Linked DNA regions of Homo sapiens: region 2 is linked to region 1. Evidence: promoter capture Hi-C in 16 types of primary human blood cells and fetal thymus (Javierre and others, 2016). All regions are on one chromosome and are shown on one strand. Each heading gives the region's core, a stretch centred on a gene start or on the middle of the fragment in contact. The rest is flanking DNA. Distances are from core to core; before and after follow the strand shown. Region 1 holds the start of JAKMIP2 (janus kinase and microtubule interacting protein 2). Region 2 overlaps DPYSL3 (dihydropyrimidinase like 3).

Region 1 (3,404 bases), core at 245-2,744:
TGTTCCAGATTATACCTATAGTAAATACTGGCGCTAGGAATGGAGCCTAGATCGTCTGACTCTGGAACTTGTGTTAAACCCATTTGAACCTGTAAATAACTCTGTGGATTAAGAACAAAGATTATTTCCATTTTATGGAGGAGTGGCAGAAAAGTGTGGTGGTTAGGAGAGCAAATGTAAGTGTTAGAAGAGTCCATTTTGATTCCGGTTCTGTCGTTTATCAGTTGTGAATTTGGGAAATGTATCTAACTCCTCTGAGATTTACAATGTCCTCAAATATCAAGATGTAGAGAACACTTAATCTCTTAGGGCCTCTCTGTCTTTGCCATCATCATCATGGTTATTACGTACTTTGGATTTTCTCATCTTAATTTTTTCTCCTACCTGAAATTGCCATGTTATTCCCCTTAAACCCTTAGATTAAGAGATGGCTGCAATGTACTACTATGCTGCTAATAGTAAATATTTATTGTACACTTACTATATGCCAAGTGCTTTTAGTGCATTATCTCATTCAATCTTTACAACCCCTCCACGAGATAAATACTGGTGTCATCTATAATTTATAGTTAGAAACAGAACTCGCCTAGAACTGGACATTGCTGATTTCACTTCCCCCTTTTCCTGCCCACCACCCTGACTGCCAACTGACTTCGGAACTCCAAAAAGGCATCCATGAAAACGACAGGAATTGCCTGCAGGAAATTGAATGCTCCAGGAGTTTGACACTAAAAAGATTGGGAACTGTCCACCAACTTGTGCTACCGAGAATAGTGGTTGTTGAAAGGAATTTCGGTCTCTATCCAAACTTACTTTTCCTCAGGGATGTGTCAATTACCTCCAAGTCCTGTTCAGAAGGGTAGCTGGAAAAACAGTGAAACCAAGTAACTCACCTGAGAACAAGCCGGGAGTAGTGCAAAGGAATCAACCAGACTCTTAATTTATTACAAAGTCCAGCCACTCCGTTTGCTTTCTAAAAACCTTGTTGCCTGGTATTGAGTAAAAGATGCTATAAAGGACGAACACGTTTGGAAGTAATAATAATCTGCTATTATGCGACATAATTTTCTCCACATTTGTTGTTATTTTTCTGATAATAAATTTCATACTTTTTATTGGAAAACCACAGAAAATGCAAAAAATAGCTAAGCCGTTGGTATGTTTCTATCTAGATTTCAATTAAATTTTAATTATTCTCTCCCCGTGCCTAGCCCCCCTTGCCCCATTTTTAAAAAGACCTGGAGTTCAGGGTAGGAGACATCAAGAGCATCCTAGAGGGCAGCAGCACAAATTCACTCCCCTCCAGACCCTGCAGCTTGCTTCGCCCATCTCCCCTCCCCCTGAGCTTGGTCGCTTATCATTGGTCATTGCCATGGCAACCAGCAGCTGCCGGGCCAGCAGCCTCTACCGCAGCAGGGGTGGGGCACTGGGGGAGGGGGAGAGAGAGAGGAGGAGCCAGAGGAGGTGTCTGCTGCAAGTTCCTGGCTGCTTCCGAGCTCACCCCATCCTCCGAGAGGGAGGAGGCCCAACTGGTGATGCTGCTGCTGCTGCTGCTGCCGCCGCCGCCGCCTCTATTGCTGATACTCTAGTGGGGCTGGAAGGGTGGTTCCTATTCGCACCATCGCCAACCAGAGACAGAGGGAAAAAAAAAACCGGCAGCCACTGCTGATGTTGGGTTCGGAGGCTGCATCCGACTCGGTCACAAGGAAAATGGATTCAGTTTGCATCTCTCCCTCCTTTAAACAGCTTCTCCGGGTCTCAGCATGGTGAGTAGGAAACAGTAGGGCTCCCTTCTTGGTTTAGAGTGTTCTTATTTGACCTGTGTATACATTTCTGGCCTGAACTTGAACAATGACTCCCGTGCCTCAGACTAGAAGGGGGAGATGTGGAGACAGAGATGAGGATGGAGGGAGAGGAAGCTTGCCAGGAAGAGAGAAGTGAGAAGACAACCTCTTGTGTTTAAAAAAAAAAAATGGTGTTCTGATTTTATCTCTAACTGGCTCAGAATGCAGACTGAGCCACTTGGTGCCTTTTTTCCTAAGCTTAGCAACAGCATCAGGGGTTGGAAAAAGAGCTAACAACAAGAAGAGGGTGTTATTGAAAGGAATCATTTCATTTGCAGCTCTCACATACAGGGTTGGGCCTTCTTCAGAAATACATTTGGTGTCTCATAAGCTTACCAGACTCATTATAAGGTGGTTTTGCTTATTTTATTGATTGCTTAGAAAAAGTGGCCCCAGAATTTGACATTTTATTTTATATTCTAATATACTCTTGTTGAGAAATCATTTGCAAGACCCAGTTTTATTTTATACGTAGATTTGACTGTGAACTTACACATGTATATCTTATGGATATACAGATCATATATACACATGTCACTTAGCATTTATATTGCATTTATGAAGCATATTTATATGTAGGGTGTGCTTTGCAACCATTTTTATGGGTTACATATGTCCTTGCATGCCTGGAAGTAATTGCATGTTTTTGAAACTATGCTTCTGGTTTATATTATTATTCATTGGCTTTATTTGGATTAATGTGAAATTTACTCTGGTTATTGTCCCTTAGTTTCATTGTGACCGATTGGAACAGATGCCTATCGTTTGATCTGTGTCATAGAACTAGATGCAAATTTGTAGCCTGCCTCTTTATTTTTAATTGGGTTTGTGGGGGATGATATTGAGGACTCTGAATTTACAATGATGGGAATGGGAGGCGGTTTGTGGTATTATTTTGTGTCTAGCATCTTACCAAATCAATGTTGAAGCAAATCAGTTTTCTTGAAATGCCACCCCAACCTTTTCATGTTTGTGCCTTGTGTCCCAGGAAGCACAGCTAAGCTGGAAGGTGAAATGTATTCATTTTATTTAATAGTGCTGCTATCTGATGTTCATTCCTTCAGTATCCAGGAACCATTTCACAGTTCTCTCAGATGTTGTATTAAGGGTCTCCTTCTGTAAATAATTAAGTAGGAAAGTAGGATTGTTTTGAAAATCTAGGTATTCCCAAGCACCCTAGCCCAGCCGTTTCCAAATTAGTCTGCTTATACAATGAAATGAAACCAGAGAGTGAGCAAAGCGAGCAGGAGAATGTGTGGCTTGTAGCTGAAATGGGGGTCTATTGTAATTTACAAATGCTTACTGGGATCTGCTTGACCTTTTATTATGTCAAGGCTTTAAGGCAGTTCAGGAGACTAAAGATGCGTGAGATGAGGAGGTTCCATTCCCGCCCAGGATAATGGATTTCATTGAATTAAAGCCAGAAAAAATTATGTAGGTAAAGTGTATTAGTAATATTACATTTACCACATGGGCTATTATAGTTTTATCCATTATTCTCTTCTCTAACAATATCATTGTCAGTACAGACATTTTTTACAATGTAAAATAACAATTGTT
Region 2 (3,404 bases), core at 452-2,951, 330 kb after region 1:
ACATCACATACCCTCAAATAGCTTATATTCTGGTGATGGGGAGAATATTCAATAATAAATTAATATGTCATGTGGTAAAAAGTATTATGAAGATAAAGCAGGAAAGGGGGCTAGCAAGTGACAGGTGGTGTAATAAGGATATGCGTTATTATTATATAATAAGAAGAATACGAAGTAAACTCCATGATATTTGGGACTTATTATTCACCTCCATTGCACTAACACTGATAAAAATAATGGCACATAGTAAGCACAAGGTAAATATTGTGTGAATATTTTGAGAATGAATGAATGAATGAATGAATGAATGAGTGATGGTGAGGAAGAGAACCCAGTTAGGAGGTTACAATAATTCAGGTGATAGCCAAATGATGGCTAAACACAGGAAGAAACTTTGCAAATCATGAGAGGAGACCATAGTCTGGATACATTTAAAAGATAGAACTGGCTGGGTGCGGTGGTTCATGCCTGTAATCCCAGCACTTTGGGAGGCTGAGGCAAGCAGATCACATGAGGTCAGGAGTTCGAGACCAGCATGGCCAACATGGTGAAACCCCCTCTCTACTAAAAGTACAAAAATTAGCCAGGTGTGGTGGCAGACACCTGTAATGCCAGCTACTCAGGAGGATGAGGCGGGAGAATTGCTTAAACCTGGGAGGCGGAGGTTGCTGTGAGCCGAGATCACCCCACTGCACTCCAGCCTGGGCAACAAGAGCGAGACTCTGTCTCAAAAAAAAAAAAAAAAAAAAAAAAAATAGAATCAGTAGCATTTGCTGAAAGATTGTCTGTGGAGAGTAGGGGCATGATTGAAGGAGAGAAATCAAGGATGGTGCCAAACCTTTCGCCTGAGCAACTGGAATGGAGTACCCATTGATTTAAGTGTGGAAATCTGTGGTGTGGCAGGTGTGGTAGCCAAAATTAAGTTTCTTTGGGACTGTAAATCAAGTCTATTTCTACATCTTCCTCTCCCTCTTTCAGTTTACTGAGATACCTAAAGCCAAGCACTGCTGTGTATCCAAGGAAAACCATTCAGAGTCATTCTACTGTGGAAAACATCCATACTGGTTCCATTCTTCTCTCTCTTGGCCAGACACAGAGGCATCCTGTGTTGATGGCTGCCTTTCTTATGGCCAAGGAAGGCTTTTTCCTTCAAATTCATCTTAGAGGCTTTATTTTGGTTCAAGAAAGTGAAAGATAATTGAAGGGGATGAAACAAGGAAAATAGTGTTTGTTGTACATTTCTGATGATGGCAACAGCTTGAATCAATTTGCTGTGTTTCTGTGTCTGGCTGGTCACAGCAGCCGGATCCAGAAGAACACATTGCAATTGCCATTCAGCATGGCCTCTTGCATGCAAACCTGACCTCAAAAAAGCTTAACCAAGTCTTGTTATTTGAAACAACACACACACACACACACACACACAATCAAGTGATCAAAAATATGGTATAAATCTATTTAGTAAAGAGTGTTCTGGATTATAATGATGGTAACAGAGGAGATAACTCAGATGTAAGAAAGGCAAAGAAACTTGTAAAATTAAAAAAAAAGGCAGCAGCAGCGGTATTTTTTTTTTAGGATTGTAAATGTCCCCTACATATTTTTGCTTTTCTTGAGAAAAATGTGCAAGATCCTTTCCAGCAAGTTTGGGGCAGTAAAATCTACAGGAAAGATGCAGAGAGAGAGAGCTCTGCTGGTTTCCATAGTATGTAGTTAATTCTCCTTTTACTCTGTTCTAAATATAATCCTGCTCATTTGCATGCCAATCCCCAGAATGCTTTGTAATTTCACAACTCTTGGCTAGTGGTCTCAGCACTTACGCTTTAAGAACAAAGCAAAATGTTTAGGGCGTGCCTTTGGCCCAGTCTTTTTATTCCCCCTTGTGTTTTGCAAGAGTATAGGGAGGTGATCTTTGCTTGGCATTCATCCTCCTTTGCAGAGTATCACAGAAATAAAGTGGAGACTGCTGTGGACTTTTCTTGCGAAGACTGCATTCAGTCCAATTAACCATAAATAACCAGAAGCTTGGATTAACTCACTTGAGAGGGAGTGTTTAAGGGGGGCTTTGTGTGTCCTTGGATTATGTGACCAGTCTGGTTCGTTTCGGGTTTATGGAAAGCCCAAGCCGGAGTATTCTGTATTCTCTTTCTGTGGATGCCTTATATAGTTTCTTTATCGCAAGCACGTCTTCACTTTAATGACAAGATGTCTAGAATTGCCATCAGTGGGCTGCCTTATGGAAACGTGAATTCAAGATTCAACACAGCTTTAGTCATGCTTAGTGACATACAGGATTTCTATTTAATAGAACATTAAGATTGACAATTGGGGAGCGGTGGGAAAATTGTCTTCAAAGGGTTTTATAATTTTTTTTGCATAGCAAGTCTTTTTTTGGTTCCTTAAATTTTATGTTTGGAATTATTTGTCGTGAGAGTTGAGGAGCTCCCTCACCCCCAGCCACCACTCAGACCCCACCCACAGTGGCCTCTCCAAATATGTCTCCCTTTGGCCGTTTGATTTTAGCAGGTAGCTAAAGGACAATGTATTCCATCGCCGAAGGGCCATGGTTTTGCTTGTAATAACATATAAACCTTCGTCTGTCAGCCCTGCCTAAAGTAAACTCGGGATTGTGAGCAGTGCACGTGGTTCATTACTGATGGGGAGCAATAGCAGTTCTACTCCAAATCCATGGCTGCGCACCAGGAACGTGTCTGGGCTACTGCCTTCCCACTCCACAGGTGTTTTCTACTTTTTACTCACAGAGCAGCATTCATGTTCTTTCTTTGATTCTGAGACTCAGTCAGGCAGTGGAGTTTCTTTAACAAGATACTACTTGGATATTTTTTAAATACAGGGAATGGTTGAGTCCACTGCTACCGTGCCCCTTGCAGCCTCTGAGAGCGAGTCACGGCTTTCCATTTTCTAATGTGTATGTTCCGGGTCTGGGGACCCCAGCAGGCCCGCCAGGTTGCAGAGTCGGACCAGTCTCCGGCGTCTGAAGGGGCTGCGCCGCTGTTTACCACCCCGCGAGCAGCAGAGGCGGCGCCCAGCCCTCCTCTCGAACAAAGGCGCGGCCGCCGCATTCGACCCGCGCCATGGCAGAGGAGAGCGGGTGCCGGGAGGGAAGCCGGGAACCGTCTCCATTCTGAAACTAGGGCGGGGAAGGTAGGAGATCCGACGAGGAGCTGGCTGGGGGCGGCGGCGCCCGCAACTCGGCCCCGCGGCCGGGAGGGCGTAGCTGATGCTCCCACCCCCGGGACTCAGCCTCCGCTCCCGAAAAGCCCCTCGCGCCCCCTGGTGGCTGTGGAGCAGCCTGACTCCGCAGCACTCGCGAATCAGAAAAAAAAAAAAAAGAAAGAAAAAGAAAAAGTGGGTGAGGCAGATGCAAAGAGGAAAATCAATAG

Evidence for each region. Contacts are between HindIII fragments. The CHiCAGO score rates a contact against its expected background, and 5 or more counts as called.
Region 2: a fragment that was not itself captured here is called in contact with the fragment with the promoter of JAKMIP2 in region 1 in 1 of 17 cell types (fetal thymus); the score reaches 5.0 in fetal thymus.

Annotation. Positions count from the first base shown.
Region 1 is chr5:147,780,818-147,784,221 of GRCh38, reverse strand. It overlaps JAKMIP2 (janus kinase and microtubule interacting protein 2), which reads left to right and starts at 1,494. Exons shown (of 22, transcript NM_001270941.2): 1 at 1,494-1,766. The HindIII fragment of the contact is 4,284 bases long and covers 1-1,921 here.
Region 2 is chr5:147,453,933-147,457,336 of GRCh38, reverse strand. All of the region lies in intron 1 of DPYSL3 (dihydropyrimidinase like 3), which reads left to right. Among named protein-coding and RNA genes, the nearest start is that of DPYSL3, 54 kb to the left of the region's middle. RefSeq lists an enhancer at 889-1,390 and a silencer at 3,109-3,248. The HindIII fragment of the contact is 650 bases long and covers 1,377-2,026 here.